Regions from separate parts of the Homo sapiens genome. Here region 1 is linked to region 2. Evidence: promoter capture Hi-C in human tissues and cell types (Jung and others, 2019). All regions are on one chromosome and are shown on one strand. The core of a region is centred on a gene start or on the middle of the fragment in contact, and the rest is flanking DNA. Distances in the headings are between cores, read along the strand shown.

What was found. The method cuts DNA at HindIII sites, captures the fragments that hold promoters and counts their contacts. A contact is called where the count stands out against the background at its distance.
Region 1: a fragment that was not itself captured here is called in contact with the fragment with the promoter of PCGF3 in region 2 in 1 of the 25 tissues and cell types used here (lymphoblastoid cells).

Annotation. Positions count from the first base shown.
Region 1 is chr4:348,493-353,180 of GRCh38, reverse strand. The region is part of intron 3 of ZNF141 (zinc finger protein 141); the gene reads right to left. It overlaps MIR571 (microRNA 571), which reads right to left and starts at 3,024; the gene lies at 2,929-3,024. The HindIII fragment of the contact is 5,531 bases long and covers 619-4,688 here.
Region 2 is chr4:703,516-707,815 of GRCh38, reverse strand. PCGF3 (polycomb group ring finger 3) reads right to left here and starts at 1,984. Exons shown (of 11, transcript NM_006315.7): 1 at 1,846-1,984. RefSeq lists enhancers at 226-1,210, 1,211-2,196, 3,237-3,964 and a silencer at 1,562-2,261. The HindIII fragment of the contact is 34,476 bases long and covers 1-4,300 here.

The DNA.
Region 1 (4,688 bases), core at 2,135-4,634, 360 kb after region 2:
GGCTGGTGCTGAATTCCTGACCTCAAGCCATCTGCACTCCTCGTCCTTCCAAAGTGCTAGGATTACAGGCGTGAGCCACCACATCCAGCCTGATTATCTTTATTCCAACACCAAATATATGGAGTTTGCTGAACACCAACCAATCCTCCAACACAAACTGGGTGCCCAACAACTCAATTCTGACAACACCCAGGGTCAGCACAGACCCCACAAGTTCAGACCCAGTTCCACAACACTGCTTCCGCTGCACATGCCAGTCACAAACTCCAGGGGCCCACCTACACTTCTGAGCAACTGACTATAAATCATGGGCTTCCCTAACTCCCTCCCTCAAATTTAATAATTTGATAAAACTACTCACAGAACTTAGCAAAAACGATTTATATGTTTTCCAGGTTATTATATTGAATACAGCTCAGTAAAAGCCAAAGGGAAAAAATGTATAGGACAAAGGAAAGTGGGGGAAAAGATGAGGTGGGTAGTGAATCTTGGTAAATAGCTATGACTAAGGTCTCTCCAATCCTTTGTGATCCGCAAGAAACGCTTATTGCAAAGAAATACCCTTTTCACTATGATTTTGAAGATGCTCCCTCTTAGATATCACAAATTCACAAACTCTACATTCCCCCAGGCCCCTGGACTCTGCTCCACCTTCAGTCTGAGCTAGCATACAACCCCTCTTGATGCCCCTCCCAAGAACAGGCTGACTTCAGGGTGAAACATTCTCCAATCCTGAATCTGATTTTGCCATTCTCCATTCTGCCTTCTCCCTCTCCCACCTTCCTCTTTTTTTTTGAGACGGAGTCTCGCTCTGTCACCAGGCTGGAGCGCAGTGGTATAGTCTTGGCTCACTGCAGCCTCCGCCTCCCGGGTTCAAGTGATTCTCCTGCCTCAGCCTTCTGAGTAGCTGGGACTACAGGTGCCCACCACCACGCCCGGCTAATTTTTTGTATTTTTAGTAGAGATGGGGTTTCACCATGTTGGCCAGGATTGTCTCCATCTCTTGACCTCCTGATATGCCCGTCTCGGCCTCCCAAAGTGCTGGGATTACAGGCGTGAGCCACCATGCCTGGCCCTCCTACCTTGTTTCTAATCTTGTTTGCTCCTCTGTATGAAAAATAGCCTTTTTCTGCCTCATTTTGGAGATGACTTCAGGTCTTATGCTTGATGCTTTCCCCACTGCAATACTCCTTAGAATAAACTCACTTCTTACCTACATCAAAATTTATTTTACTTGACAATATGTAGAAACAGCCCCATGACAATAACAATTACACCCTCTCAGAGGATATCACAACCTCCTCTCATCCAAACCCTCACTGCCTCTGCCTGTGGATACCCAGCTTTCCAGGGCTCCTTCCCTGTCTAATTTGAGCAGGCTGAGACACCTGAAAGAAAGGTTCACCAGCAACACATTACGGGGCTATTGATGACCTGCTTTGGCAGAATCAAGATTGACCTTACCCTGCAGTCAACAGGCTTAGGTCTCGGATTCCCAGTCAAGGTTATTCACTTAGTTTTATATAAAAAGAACTCAGTGGTTGAAAAATCCAGGAAAATGCCTCAAACTCAGTGCTTATGTTTTAGGAGGAAAGAAAATTGTAAGGCACTTACATTTTATACTTCAACAAGTATATGGAAGTATAAATGTTTCTCCGGCCAGGCATGGTTGCTCACGCCTGTAATCTCAGCACTTTTGGAGGCCGAGGGGCGGATCATGAGGTCAGGAGACCACCTGGCTAACATGGTAAAACCCCGCCCCTACTAAAAATTAAAAAAATTAGCCAGGCTTGGTGGCAGGCACCTGTAGTCCCAGCTACTCGGGAGGCTGAGGCAGGAGAATAAGTTGAACCTGGGAGGCGGACATTGCAGTGAGCCGAGATCGCGCCACTGTACTCCAGCCTGAGTGGCAGAGCGAGACTCTGTCTCAAAAAAAAAAAAAAAGGTTTAACTGGCTCATAGTTCTGAAGGCTGTACAGGAAGCACAGCAGCTTCTACTTTTGGGGAGGCCTCAGAAAGCTTCCAGTCACGGCACAAAGCAAAGGGAGAGTGAGTCATCTCACACAGTGGGAACAGGAGCAAGACAAGAGTGAGAGGGGAGGTGCCACATGCTTTTAAAAAATAAGATCTCAGGCCGGGCGCGGTGGCTCACGCCTGTAATCCCAGCACTTTGGGAGGCTGAGGTGGACGGATCATGAGGTCAGGAGATCCAAACCATCCTGGCTAACATGGTGAAACCCCGTCTCTACTAAAAAAAAAAAAAAGTACAAAAAATTAGCCGGGCATGGTGGCAAGCACCTGTAATCCCAGCTACTCTGGAGGTTGAGGCAGGAGAATGGCATGAACCCGTGAGGTGGAGCTTGCGGTGAGCCGAGATCATGCCACTGCACTCCAGCCTGAGCCACAGAGCGAGACTCCATCTCAAAAAATAAATAAATAAAAAATAAGATCTCGGGAGAACTCACTCACTATGGCAAAGACAGTACCAAAGGGGCTGGTACTAAACTATTCATGAAAAGCCAACCCTACGATCCAATCATCTCCCTCAAGGCCCCACCTCCAACAATAGGGATTACATTTGACATGAGATTTGAATGGGGACATAGATCCAAACCGTATAATTTACAAAAGTGAAAAAGTGAAAAAATTCAAACATCCTTCAATGAATGAAAGATTTTAAAAGATGTGGCTTATACACGCAATGAAATATTCTTTAGCTTCAAATGAAAATGTCTTGTCAGATGCTACAATAAGGATAAATCCTGAGGCCATTATTTTAGTGAAATAAGACGCTAACAAAGTGACAATGCATGATTCCATTTTTATACAATATTTTAAGTAGTAAGCACATAGAAAGCAGAAGTAGAAAGGTGCTTGCCTATGGTTAGGGTTGTGAAACCTCAGTGGAGCCAGAGATCGAGGGTTATTTAGAATAAGCAGGCCCTCACTCAGATGGCCAACTCAAGAGCCCATAGACATGGCTACAGACAAGGAAATGGCACACTGAGCTTGGTCTTACTGAGGATTCTGAAGCAGTTCTGTAACCTCTCTCAAATTCAATCTCAGCTACAGTCCAGACGTGGTCCTTCCCATCAAGAGACCTGCAGGGAGATACACACCCAGCCATGGCCCTGGAGGCAGGCCTGTATATCCTGGCCTCAGCTGTGCTCCTGAGCCCTGTGACTCAGTTCTAGCCCTCACAGTCACAGTCCATGGCCAGTTGTACACAATCAGGGACCCAAAGAGAAAAGTGTGGAAACTGTTCCCAGGTTGTCAGTAGAAGCCAAACCCATTCATACACCTGGTATTTGGCCCATCATATGCAGACAAACTTCAAAACCCTAGTCTACTGCCTGCCATATAGATTAATATCCTCAAGGAAATCTAATCTCTCCAGGGCCCAGAAATAATCCATGACTGTCCAAATCTCTGGTAATACAATCATCAAAGGCAGACCCCACAGCAGACCCAGCAGCACCCTTGTGACCCAGCTACAACCCTTCTTCTCTGCAACCCCAGAGGTAATCTCATCAGCCTGGGACTCAACAAAAGGAGATCTTTACCTGCCAAAAATAGTTTATACAAACTGTGAAATTTGTCAAATGCAGACACAGGGCTGCTTCAGAGACCACAGCCGGGGACAAGACTTGCAGGCCTGCCTCCAGGGCCACAGCTTCTATCTTAACATGTGACTGGAAGTTTGTATCAAAACAATTAGACAAGGAAAAGGAGAATAAAGCTCTCCAGAGTGGAAAAGAAATAAAAAAGTTACTGTTTGTGGATAATATCATCATGCATATACATAAAACCCTAGAGTAAAATAAGAAAAATTGATTGAACTAATAAATGCATTCATTAAAGTATCAGGATACATAATCAACATATAGATGCTTGTTGGGATTTTTTTTTTTTTGAGACAGGGCCTCACTCTATTGCCCAGGCTTATCTCAAACTCCTGTACTCACATGATACAACTGCCTTGGGCTCTGAAAGTGCTGGGATCACAGAAATGAGCCACTGCACCTGGCACCACATACAAATATTTCTTGCATTTCCATAGAGTAAAAACAAACTTTCCAAAAATAGAAACCATTTCCATTTGCAATAGTATAAAAATAAGAAAGTTAATCAAAATAAATTTAACCAAATGACATAAAAAACATATAGTATTATACACTAAATACAATAAGATATCAATGACAGAAAGTGAAGTAGAAACAAATAAATGGAAACATATTCCATTAGGATAACTAATATTGTCAAAGAATATTATCCAAAGTGATCTATAGATTCAATGTGATCCCTATCAAAATTTTATTGGCATTTTTCACACTAATAGAAAACACAATTGTAAAATTTAGGTGTAACCTTAAACGACTTTTAATAACCTGAGCAATCAATCTTGAGAAAGAACAAAGCTGGGGGCATCATACTTGTTTTTTTTTTTTTTTTGAGATGGAGTCCAGCTCTGTCACCCAGGCTGGAGTGCAGTGGCACAATCTAGGTTCAGTGATCTAGGCTCACTGAAACCTCTGCCTCTTGGGTTCAAGTGATTCTCCTGCCTCAGCTTCCCGAGTAGCTGGGATTACAAGCGCCCACTACCACCCCTAGCTAGTTTTTGTATATTTTTAGTAGAGACAGGGTTTCACCATATTGGCCAGGCTAGTCTTGAACTCCTGATCTCAAGT
Region 2 (4,300 bases), core at 735-3,234:
GGTCCCGGCCCCCAGGGGAAAACAGAGCTGTCCCAGGGTCCCGGCCCCCAGGTGAAAACAGAGCTGTCTCAGGGTCCCGGCCCCCAGGTGAAAACAGAGCTGTCTCAGGGTCCCGGCCCCCAGGGGAAAACAGAGCTGTCCCAGGGTCCCGACCCCCAGGGGAAAACAGGGCTGTCCCAGGGTCCCGACCCCCAGGGGAAAACAGAGCTGTCCCAGAGTCCCGACCCCCAGGGGAAAACAGAGCTGTCCCAGGGTCCCGACCCCCAGGGGAAAACAGGGCTGTCCCAGGGTCCCGGCCCCCGGGTGAAAACAGGCTGTCCCAGGGTCCCGGCCCCCAGGGGAAAACAGGGCTGTCTCAGGGTCCCGGGGGAGACGGGGCAGTCTCAGGGTCCCAGCAGTGCTCACAGGACTCACAAGACTGCTCCAGGGTCAGGTCCTCCTGAATTATGGTCATGGGGTCCTGGCCCTCGTCTGTGACCCACTTTAAGGCAGGACCTTCCTGGGGGATCTATTCTGGGGTCCTGGCATTCTTTGGATTCTGCCTGGTCCCTACGTCTGGCCCTCCTCCGTGATTCTTCCCAGGGTCCTAGCCCCCCCGGGCCCTGCCAGGTGGCCAGGTCCGACCCTCCTTGGTGACCCATCTTGGGGTCCCAGCCCTTCTCGGTGACCTGTCCCAGGGTCAGACCCTCCTGGATGATGTGTCATTGTGTCCTAGCACTCTGGGGGTCCTGTGCAATCCCAGAGCCCAACTCTCTTCAGGTCCTGCCTGGTCTGAAGACCCAGCCCTCCCGGGGTCCTGCCTGGGCTGGGGTCGCGACCTTCCCAGGGTCCTGCCTGGGCTGGGGTCCCTACCCTCCCGCGGTCCTGCCTGGGCTGGGGTCTTTGCCCTCACCTGGGTCCTGCCTGGTCTGGGGTCTTCGCCCTCCCTGGGTCCTGCCTGGGCTGGGGTCGCGACCTTCCCAGGGTCCTGCCTGGTCTGGGGTCCCTGCCCTCCCGCGGTCCTGCCTGGGCTGGGGTCTTCGCCCTCACCTGGGTCCTGCCTGGTCTGGGGTCTTCGCCCTCCCTGGGTCCTGCCTGGGCTGGGGTCGCGACCTTCCCAGGGTCCTGCCTGGTCTGGGGTCCCTGCCCTCCCGCGGTCCTGCCTGGGCTGGGGTCTTCGCCCTCCCTGGGTCCTGCCTGGTCTGGGGTCTTGGCCCTCCCGGGGTCCTGCCTGGTCTGGGGTCCCTGCCCTCCCGCGGTCCTGCCTGGGCTGGGGTCTTCGCCCTCCCTGGGTCCTGCCTGGTCTGGGGTCTTGGCCCTCCCGGGGTCCTGCCTGGTCTGGGGTCTTGGCCCTCCCTGTTCTGGGGTCTTTGCCCTCCCTGGGTCCTGCCTGGGCTGGGGTCTTCGACCTCCCGGAGTCCTGCCTGGGCTGGGGTCTTGCCCTCCCTGCGTCCTGCCTGGACTGGGGTCTTGCCCTCCCTGCGTCCTGCCTGGGCTGCTGTCCCAGCCCTCCCTGGGTCCTGCCTGGGCTGGGGTCTTCGACCTCCCGGAGTCCTGCCTGGGCTGGGGTCTTGCCCTCCCTGCGTCCTGCCTAGGCTGGAGTCCCAGCCCTCCCGGGGTCCTGCCTGGGCTGGGCTCTTGGCCCTCCCGGAGTCCTGCCTGGGCTGGGGTCTTCGACCTCCCGGAGTCCTGACTGGGCTGGGGTGCCGGCCCTCCCGGGCCTGCCAAGGGCTTCCCGGGCCAGGCCGACGGGGACGACGGAGCGCGGGCCCGGGGTTCGGAGCCTTCCGGGCCGGACACGGGCCGAGGCCGCAGCCTGAGGAGCGGGCGCCGAGGGCCCAGGCCAGGCGGGGCGGACTCACTGACCTGCGGTCTCGGGGCTGCGGGCGAGCAAGGCGCACGCGGGGTCCGCGCCGGAGGGGGGAGGGGGCGCCGCTCCCTCTGGGTCCCCCCCAAGAGGAGGAGAAAAAAGCCCGTCCGGAGTTTAAAACAAAGAGGCGGAAATGCCCGAGCCGAGCCGAGCGCCGCGTCGGGGGCGCCGCGCTCGGAGCATGCGCGGTGTGCGTCTGGGCTCCCACCCCGCGGCAAGGGGCGTGGGCGGGGCCAGGCGGTAAGGGGTGGGGATAGGGGCGGGGAGGGGCGTGTTCAGAGGGCGCAGGCGCGTCGGGCCTGGACTCGGCGGAGGGAGCCGCGGGGCGCGAGGGCCAGGGGCGAGGCATAGGGCGGGGCCATGAGGGGCGTGGTCAGGAGAGCGACAGGGCCGCGCTGTGCTGAGGGACCCGACGGGTCCTGGACGATCGTGAGCTGGGGCGCTGGAGCAGCAGAGTCCTCAGGCCCGGGTCCCTCCGGGGGTGCCGTCCAGTACGGGTGCTGCTGTCCTTTGTGGGAGCCGGGACTGAGCGCCCTCCCGGCAGGGTTAAGGGTCGGTGTTAGGGTCAGGGGTCGGGTTAGGGGTCAGAGTCAGGGTTAGGGTTGGGTTTAGGTTTAGGGTCAGGGTTAGGGGTTAGAGTCAGGGTTAGGACTGGGTTTAGGGCTAGGGTCAGCATTAGGGGTTAGGGTTAGGGTTGGGTTTATGGTTAGGGTCAGGATTAGGGGTGGGGTCAGGGTCAGGGGTTAGGGTCTGGTCTAGGGTTAGGGTTGGGTTTAGGGTTAGGGTCAGGGTTAGGGTTAGGGTTGGGTTTTAGGGTTAGGGTCAGGGTTAGGGTTAGAGTCAGGGTTAGGACTGGATTTAGGGTTAGGGTCAGCATTAGGGGTTAGGGTTAGGGTTGGTTTTACGGTTAGGGTCAGGATTAGGGGTAGGGTCAGAGTTAGGGGTTAGGTTTAGGGTTAGGGTTGGGTTTAGGGTTAGGGTCAGGATTAGGGGTGGGGTCAGGGTCAGGGGTTCGGGTCTGGTCATGTTTAGGCTTGTATTTAGGTTATGTTCAGCATCAGGACGGACAGGGCACCCACGTGCGGACTCTCCGACCTGGGTGCCCTCCGCCAGGGTGGAGCAGTACGGGCGGCATTTGCGCCTTCGTGGGACTGGCACTGTCCTGAGAGGGCGGGATCCGAGGACCGAGGGCGCGTGCGGGGGTGAGGCGGACGTGCAGGCACGCGGGGTCCTAGGGTCTCCCGGTTTGCGGGTTCTGGGCTGGCGGCCCAGGACGGGAGGGCAGGTTGGGTCTTGGGTGGGAAGCGAGACCACTGTGGTTCCGGGCGGCGGGGCACCGCGCAGTGTGGAGGCTTGGTGGCGAGAGGGGAGGCCCCGTAGGCCCAGGGGCACTCGCTGCGAGGCTGTGCGGTGCAGGCATGGAGCAGGAGTCGGGAGTCATTAGCTCGTCCCGTCTGGAGAGGTGGTGGCTGAGGGAGTGACCCTGCGACTGTCCCCGTGAAGTCTAGAGTTGGACCCCGGGAGCAGCCACCAGGCAGGGGGCCCCGGGCCCAGGTATGGTGCAGCACGTGGGGAAGCGGCTTGAGTCCGCTGCTGAGAGGGGCCTGAGAAGGGCTGGGGGCCTGCTGAGATCTCCAGCACTGGGTGGACACGTTATCCGGGTGGGAGGAGGACAGACAGCAGACATGTGAATGTGTACAGCATTCCCAGGCATGCTGCTGTGAAGGGGAGGGACTAAATGTGGCCACTGCTGCCCCCGGGGGAGGGGAGGCAGGGAGGGCTCCGTGGAGCCATGGGGTGGCCCAGTGCAGGGGAGGGGCCCACTGGAGAGGGCTGCCTGGGATTGGGGTACTGGGGTGCTGGCCCTCCACAAGAGCCCTGACTGCAGTTTTCAGTTGGTGGAGGCAGGCCCCAGATGTGGAGGGGAGGACTGGAGGATCATCCCAGAAGGAGGGCAGGGGCAAGGTATTGGTGCTGGGGTGCAAGGGGCAGGGGGTGGCCAGCAGGCCAGGAACAGTCCTGGGCTGAGTGTGGTGGCCTCAGGAAGAGGCAGAGTGGTAAGCTGCAGTTCAGAACTCACTCCAGGCCCCAGGCCCCTCCTCAAGGAGGTGCAGACCCTACCCCTAGGCTTCCCACTACTCTCCTGGGTGGGTGCCAGCGGTGCCCGGACCTTGACTCTGAGCCCTGGGCTCTTGTGTCCAGCTCTGTTTCTGCTGAATGTCATTAGGAAGCTTAAATGCCACATGGCCGGATGGCTTCCCCAGGCCATCCTGAGTCTGCTGTGTACCCCAGGACCCCCCACCCCCCACCGCCAGTCCTGAGGCAAGACCCCAGAGTCCTCTGCACCCTCTTCCTCTCATGCCCAAACTGGCCATCCATGGCCCATCGGCAGCCAGCCAGGTCTCCCACCTGCACCCTCCTGGGACCTCACTCAGCCAAGGCCCGAGGGTG